2 separate regions of the Homo sapiens genome follow, and region 2 is linked to region 1. Evidence: promoter capture Hi-C in 16 types of primary human blood cells and fetal thymus (Javierre and others, 2016). All regions are on one chromosome and are shown on one strand. Each heading gives the region's core, a stretch centred on a gene start or on the middle of the fragment in contact. The rest is flanking DNA. Distances are from core to core; before and after follow the strand shown. Region 1 overlaps CHD8 (chromodomain helicase DNA binding protein 8). Region 2 holds the start of TINF2 (TERF1 interacting nuclear factor 2).

Region 1 (4,044 bases), core at 954-3,453:
CGCCTCGGCCTCCCAAAGTGTTGGGATTACAGGCCTGAGCCACACTGCACCTGGCCCAGAGTATTTTTATCAGTATTTTTGCAGTCCTGTGGTATCTTCATCTCTAGGAGAGCATAACATTCTAAAAACTAACTTTAGTACTTGATGCATATGAAAATTTAAGAATTAGTAAGATGGGTTAGAGAGAACATTCAGATCTTACTCTGTTCTTCTATTGAATAACTAAGGGATTTTGGACAAATCCTTTAACCTCTTCAGTTTTTACATCCTGAAAAGTGAGGGTTTTAAAGCAATTTCTTAAGTTTTCTGTTTTTTTGAGACATGGTCTCACTCTGTCACCCAAGCTGGAGTGCAGTGGCACCATCTCAGCTCACTGCAACTTCTCCCTCCCCTGGTTCAAGCCATTCTCCTGCCCAGCCTCTCAAGTAGCTGGGATTGCAGGCGTGCACCACCAGGCCAGGCTAATTCTTTGTATTTTTAGTAGGGACGAGGTTTCACCACGTTGGCCAAGCTGCTCTGGAACTCCTGGCCTCAAGTAATCCACCCGCCTTGGCCTTCTGAAGTACTGGGATTACAGGCTTCAGCCACCGCACTCGGCCTTAAGTTTTCTAATTCTATATATTTTAGAAGTGTTTGGAGAGGTCTTCTAAGGAAAATAGTCATGAGATTTCCCAATATATAAAGGTTGAGAATCACTAATAATATGTCAGTAATGGAAAAAGCAGAGGAAACTGTTTTGTAATTCATAATAAATTTGTCCATTAAGTTATTCTATATTTTCAAATTTACTTATACTTTTATGATGGATAATAGGCCATTTGGTGGACTAAGTACCCACAGTTTATTCTTTCCACCAAATTTCAACTGCAAAAGTTTCTCTTGGCTATGCTTACCTTACTTTCTGCAATAGTTGTATTTGTTTTTTAATCTTTTATTTTTTTGAGACAGAGTCTTGCCCTGTCACCCAGGCTGGAGGGCAGTGCCACAATCTCAGCTCACGGCAAGCTCTGCATCCCCGGTTCAAGTGATTCTCTTGCCTCAGCCTCCCAAGTAGCTGGGACCACTGGCGCATGCTACCATACCCAGCTAATTTTTGTATTTTTAATAGAAAGAAGGTTTTGCCATGTTGGCCAGACTGTTCTCAAACTCCCGACCTCAGGTGATCCACCTGCCTAAGCCTCCCGAAGTACTGGGATTACAGGCATGAGCCACTGTGCCTGGCCAATAGTTGTAATTTTTTTTTTTTTTTCCTGAGACGGAGTCTTGCTCTGTTGCCCAGGCTGGAGTGCAATGGACTGATCTCAGCTCACTGCAACCTTTACCTCCCAAGTTCAAGTGATTCTCCTGCCTCAGCCTCCCGAGTAGCTGGGATTACAGGTGTGTGCAACCATGCCCAGCTAATTTCTGTATTTTTAGTAGAGACGGGGTTTCACCATGTTGGTCAGGCTGGTCTCGAACTACTGACCTTGTGATCCACCCGCCTCAGCCTCCCAAAGTGTTGGGATTACAGGCGTGAGCCACAGCGCCTGGTCAATAGTTGTATTTTTAAAGCATACATAAATCATTGTTTTAAATGACATAGAGTCATTTAAAATGGATTAGCACTTGTATATACTTGCCTTATCTAATTATTCCCCCATTTGATCTTCTATAGAAATCTTTATACACATACAGTCATCCCTTGGTATCTGTGAGGGATTGGTTCCAGGACCCCTGCAGATACCAAAATCCATGGATGCTCGAGTCCTTTATATATAAAATGGTGTAGAGCCAGGTGCGGTGGCTCTTACCTGTAATCCCAGCACTTTGGGAGGCTGAGGCAAGAGGATCACTTGTGCCCAGGAGTTCAAGACCAGCCTGGGGACCCCAGTGGGACCTTATCTCTACAAAAAATTAGCTGGGCGTGGTAGTGCAGTCCTCTAGTATCAGCTATGTGGAAGCTGAGGCAGGAGGATCACTTGAGCCCAGAGGCTGAGACTACAGTGACCCATGATCATGCCACTGCACTCCAGCCTGGGCAATAGAGTGTGAGACCCTGCCTCAAAAAATAAATAAATAAATAAATAAAATCATGTAGTATTTCCATGTAACCGACACACTTCCTCTGATACACTTTAATCTCTTGATTACTTATAATACCTAACACAATATAAATACTATGTAAATAGTTGTTACACGGTATTGTTTTAAAATCTGTAGTATTTTCTCTTGTTATTTTTTAGTTTCTTGTTGTTTTCAAATATTTTCAATCCACAGATGGTTGAATCCATGGATATGGAAGGCTGACTATGTGCATACACATATATTTATGTGTCTATATAACCACATGGAATATCTTTTAACAAAATTAATTTTAAAGTAAACTATCAATATTTTGCATTTAACAAGTTTGAAACATAAAATATATGTAGATTTATGAGGCTTATTTTTATATTAATGGAAGTGTTACCATGGGAGAATGTTTCAGTTTTCCCTGTTAGCCTCGATGAGAACAAGAGTGCAATAAACAGAATGGTTGATATGGGAAAGGCTGGTGGCTAGAAGGCTAATGCCATCTCTGTCTTTAATTTAACATTATAGAGCAGCCTGTAAGAAGGGCTTTTCCTTCACTGTTACCTATTTTTACCTCAAGTACTTCTGCTACTCCCTTATAGTCAACTGAAACTCTTAAGAAATATCATAGAAAATCACAGAAAATCCTAATATGACTAGTACAGAATTCTTTTTTTTTTTTTTTTTTTTGCTTGAGACAGAGTCTCGTTCTGTAACCCAGGCTGGAGTGCAGTGGCATGATCTCAGCTCACTGCAACCTCCGCCTCCTGGGTTCAAGTGATTCTCCTGCCTCAGCCTCCTGAGTAACTGGGATTGCAGCCATGCACGACCACACCCAGCTTTTTTTTTTTTTTTTTTTTTGATACAGAGTTTCACTCTTGTTGTCCAGGCTGGATGGAGTACAATGCCGTGATCTCTGCTCACCGCGATCTCCGCCTCCTGGGTTCAAGCGATTTTTCTGCCTCAGCCTCCCCAGTAGCTGGGATTACAGGCATGCGGCACCACGCCCAGCTAATTTGTTGTACTTTTAGTAGAGATGGGGTTTCTCCATGTTGGTCAGGCTGGTCTCGAACTCCCAACCTCAGGTGATCCGCCTGCCCTCAGCCTCCCAAAGTGCTGGGATTACAGGCGTGAGCCACCACGCCTGGCTGACTCCCGGCTAATTTTGGTATTTTTAGTAGGGACAGAGTTTCGCTATGTTGGCCAGGGTGGTCTTGAACTCCTAACCTCAAGTGATCCACCTGCCTCAGCCTCCCAAAGTGCTGGGATTACAGGCATGAGCCACCACGCCTGGCCCAGAATTCTTAATATAGAATTGACAGTGAATCTAGCACTACGTTATTCTTGGGACCTGCAGGAATAACTTCTATCTTCAATGAACTTAATCAGAATTTTTAGTCAGAACATCTAGAAGAAGCCATTTAAAATTCAGATATGTAAGTTTTTTATCAATGTGGAACAAAAATTATTTTATTAAATTTAGTGAGGAGTTTCTGACAGTTTTTTGGTGTTCTAGACATGTAGAAATCTTTATCTGATCTGTCTTGAATTTACCCTGCTTTGATGTGCTAATAGAGGATATTATTGTAAATGTCAATTCACATAGTAAGAACAAGTGAACAACTTGCCATCAGGAGACACGAGTGATTTTTTTTTTTTTTTTGAGACGGAGTCTCGCTGTCGCTCAGGCTGGAGTGCAGTGGCGCGATCTCGGCTCACTGCAAGCTCTGCCTCCCGGGTTCACACCATTCTCCTGCCTCAGCCTCCCGAGTAGCTGTGGGACTACAGGCGCCCGCCACCTTGCCCAGCTAATTTTTTGCATTTTTAGTAGAGACCGGGTTTCACCGTGTTAGCCAGGATGGTCTCGATCTCCTGACCTTGTGATTCCCCCGCCTCGGCCTCCCAAAGTGCTGGGATTACAGGCGTGAGCCACCGCGCCCGGTCACAAGTGATTTTTTTTATGTGCATTTACTAATTCATTGTCTTACCCAG
Region 2 (4,044 bases), core at 1,545-4,044, 2.9 Mb before region 1:
TACTTGGGAGGCTGAGGCACCAGAATCGCTTGAACTTGGGAGACACAGGTTGCAGTGAGCTGATATTGAGCCACTGCATTCCAGCCTGAGCAACAAAGCAAGACATTGTCTCAAAAAACAAAAAAAACCCACTGTAACAGAAATGATGAATGTCTGTGATGGGCTCATCAATAGACTGGACATGGCCAAAGAACATGGTGCGCTTGAAGAAATGTCAACAGAAATTTCCAAAGCTGAAATGCAATGAGAAAAAAAAATGAAAAAGAACAGAATATCCAAGAATTGTAGGACAATTATAGAAGCTGTAGCATACACATAATCAGAATGGCAGAGAAGAAAATAAAGGAACATAAGAAATGTGGCAATAATGACTGAGAATTTCCCCCAAATTAATGACAGACACAAAACACAGATCCAGGAAGCTCAGAGAGCAGCAAGCAGGATAAATACAAAAAACAAAAAATGAAGATAGACTGGGCTGGGCAACACAGAGAGACACCCCTTCTCTACAAAACATATTTTTCTTTTTTTTTTTTTTTGTAGAGTCAGGGTCTCACTGTATTGCCCAGGCTGGTCTCAAACTCCTGGCCTCAAGTGATCCTCCCACTTCAGCCTCCCAAAGTTCTGGGATTACAGGCATGAGCCACCACACCCACCAAAAAAGATTTTTTAAAAAATTAGCCAGGGACTGCGTGCAGTGGCTCACGCCTGCGATCCCAACACTTTCGGAAGCCGAGGTGGGAAGATCGCTTGAGTCCAGGAATTCGAGACCAGCCTGGGCAACAAAGACTTGTCTCTACAAAAAATAGAAAAAAATGAGCCAGGCATGGTGGTGCATGCCTGTAGCCCCAGTTACTTTGGAGGCTGAGGCAGGAGGATCACTTAAGCCCAGGAGGCAGAGGTTGCAGTGAGCCAAGATCACTGCACTCCACCCTGAGCAACAGAGCGAGACTGTCTCCCCACCTCAAAAAAAAAAAAAGAGCCGAGCGCGGTGGCTCACGCCTTGTAATCCCAGCACTTTGGGAGGCCGAGGCGAGCGGATCACGAGGTCAGGAGATCCAGACCACGGTGAAACCCCGTCTCTACTAAAAATACAAAAAAGCCGGGCGCGGTGGTGGGCGCCTGTAGTCCCAGCTACTCGGGAGGCTGAGGCAGGAGAATGGCGTGAACCCAGGAGGCGGAGCTTGCAGTGAGCTGAGATCGCGCCACTGCACTTCAGCCTGGGCGACAGAGCGAGACTCCGTCTCAAAAAAAAAAAAAAGTAAAACAACAGAAGTTCATATCTACATAAGAAAGAAAGAACATTAGAGAAGGAATAAATAAAGGGAAAAAGGAAGATAACTAGAATTTCACACATATCCAATTTGGGGTACTTTGGGACTGGGTGTTTCTTGGGCAGTCGAATGTGCGGATCAGCTGAGACTGATCCGGGGCGGAGACAAGGATGTGTGAACCATTATCTCTGGGAATGGAAGACATGGGCTAAAGACGGAGCAGTTTCACTAAATCCTTGTAAGGTGGTCAAGGCAGGCAACTAATCCAGCCAACAATTAAGGAGTGTAAGCTGTGTGTTAGGTTCTGTGCTTGCTGATGGAAATGAGAGGCACCAGGAAGCCTGTGGAAGAGACAGTCAAGGAGAGCAGTCAATTACATTAGGGGGCTGACAAGTTCAGTGCACAACAGAATCCTAAAACAAGAAACTAATTTGTGTGTGTGTGTGAGACCCCGTCTCACTCTATCACTCAGGCTGGAGTGCAGTCACTGAAGCCTCAACCTCCCTGGCTCAAACAATCCTCCCAACTCAGCCTCCTGAGTAGCTGGGACTACAGGCGTGCCACTACGCCCGGCTAGTTTTTTTGATTTTCAGTAGAGACAGGTTATCGCCATGTGATCCAGTCTGGTCTGGAACTCCTGGGCTCAAGCGGATCGATCCTCCCCTCTCGGCCTCTCAGAGTGCTGGGATTACAGGTGTGAGTCACCGTGCCCCCAGCCTGTATTCTATTTCTTCTTCTTCCTCTTTTTTTTTTTTTTTTTTTCTTTGAGAGAGATTCTCCCTCTGTCGCCCAGGCTGGAATGCAGAGGCAAGATCGCGGCTCACTGCCACCTCCCGTCTACTGGGTTCAAGCGATTCTCCTGCCTCGGCCTCCCGAGTAGCTGGGATTACAGGCGCCTGCCACCACGCCCAGCTAATTTTTGTACTTTTAGCAGAGAAGGGGTTTCACCATGTCGCCCAGGCTTGTCTGGAGCTCCTGGGCTCAAGTGACCCTCCTGCCTCGGCCTCTCAAAGCGCTGGGATTAGACACAAGCCACCACGCCCAGCCTGTATTTTATTTTTTAAGGGCGGGCGCCCTCTTCTGTTTTATAAAAGGAACAGTCGAATTCCTACTGGAAGCGACGCGCGCAGAGGGGAAGGCTTTGTAGACGCCGGCTCGGGTCTGGAATTTAAAGAACTAAATTTCGATGGGTGAAGACAGTGGGAAAGGGCGGTGGCATGATCCTCGTTTTACAGACTAGGAAGTCGAGCCTCACGGGAGTGACGGGGCTTCTCCGCAGGCTCCGCGAAGAAAGCAAGGCTGGGAGGACCCAGACGAACGGCCACAACAGCCTCAGCGGCCACGACAGCCTCAGCCGCCAACTCATGTCAGCCGGCAGAGAGTGCAGGAAGCGGGCAGCTACAGCTCCGCTGGGGCGTGGCCTTCTGACGCACCGTCACGGTTCCCTCTGTGGCCGCCCATTGGCTCCCTCTTACCGCCCTTTTCCGGGGCAAGGGAAGCTAGTAGCGGAGCCGGAAGTGAGGCACCCTCGGGCTCGAGACAGCGGCGACGTTTAAAGCTGAGCGACCCAGTGCCACTGGAGACGGTCAGCTTCTCCACTCAGGCTCCTCCAGCCCGAGCCAGAAGACCCCCTCCCCCAGAATTCTGGGGGCCGATGGAAGGGAGCCGAGTCAGATCGCGAGGTACCCAGAGCCGACAGACCGGAGCGACAGGGAGTTGCCAGAAGCCCCGCCCCTAGGAGTGATCGGAAAGCCTCACCCATCCGGGTGAGGAACCCGGAGGGACCGCCTCCGGGCGGAGCCCGCCGACCATGGCTACGCCCCTGGTGGCGGGTCCCGCAGCTCTACGCTTCGCCGCCGCGGCTAGCTGGCAGGTTGTGCGCGGACGCTGCGTGGAACATTTTCCGCGAGTACTGGAGTTTCTGCGATCTCTGCGCGCTGTTGCCCCTGGCTTGGTTCGCTACCGGCACCACGAACGCCTTTGTATGGGCCTAAAGGCCAAGGTATTGGAGCAAGTAGGACCTGGAAGGGGAAAGAAAGAAAGGGGCGGGATGCGAGCACCTGACAAGGGCCCACAGCTTGGGGATGAGACTAGTTGGAAAAGGTCAGCTTGCCCCGAAGTGGGGATTCTGAATTCAGTACCGTACAGGTGGTGGTGGAGCTGATCCTGCAGGGCCGGCCTTGGGCCCAAGTCCTGAAAGCCCTGAATCACCACTTTCCAGAATCTGGACCTATAGTGCGGGATCCCAAGGCTGTGAGTAATCCCCGGAACAAGCCCTGACCCCAGTTACACTTGGTGCAGCAAAGTTGCTCCTCCTGTCTACTGGATGTTGGTGCTAACTTCTCTGTCTTCTGTATCCTCAACAGACAAAGCAGGATCTGAGGAAGATTTTGGAGGCACAGGAAACTTTTTACCAGCAGGTGAAGCAGCTGTCAGAGGCTCCTGTGGATTTGGCCTCGAAGCTGCAGGTGAGACTGGTTTGAAGGCTATTATGTGGCTATTTTCTCTAACCCATTTTTTTTTTTTTTTGAGGAATCTTGCTCTGTCGCCCAGGCTGGAGTGCAGTGGCACAATCTCGGCTCACTGCAACCTCTGCCTCCCGGGTTCAAGCGATTCTCCTGCCTCAGCCTCCCGAGTAGCTGGGATTACAAATGCCCAGCTAATTTTTGTATTTTAGTAGAGATGGGGTTTCACCATGTTGGCCAGGCTGGTCTCGAACTCCTGACCTCAAGTGATCCGCCCACCTCGGCCTCCCAAATGGCCAGGATTA

The links. The method cuts DNA at HindIII sites, captures the fragments that hold promoters and counts their contacts. A CHiCAGO score of 5 or more calls a contact.
Region 2: the fragment with the promoter of TINF2 here is called in contact with a fragment that was not itself captured in region 1 in 1 of 17 cell types (naive CD8 T cells); the score reaches 5.9 in naive CD8 T cells.

What each region holds. Positions count from the first base shown.
Region 1 is chr14:21,386,508-21,390,551 of GRCh38, reverse strand. All of the region lies in intron 37 of CHD8 (chromodomain helicase DNA binding protein 8), which reads left to right. The region is part of intron 1 of LOC107984643 (a long non-coding RNA gene); the gene reads right to left. Among named protein-coding and RNA genes, the nearest start is that of SNORD9, 3.7 kb to the left of the region's middle. The HindIII fragment of the contact is 7,320 bases long and covers 1-4,044 here.
Region 2 is chr14:24,241,373-24,245,416 of GRCh38, reverse strand. TINF2 (TERF1 interacting nuclear factor 2) reads left to right here and starts at 2,794. Exons shown (of 9, transcript NM_001099274.3): 1 at 2,794-3,276; 2 at 3,423-3,527; 3 at 3,641-3,742. The coding sequence starts at 3,085. RefSeq lists a silencer at 1,860-2,154 and enhancers at 2,346-2,645, 2,816-3,075, 3,146-3,365, 4,026-4,044. The HindIII fragment of the contact is 13,864 bases long and covers 1-4,044 here.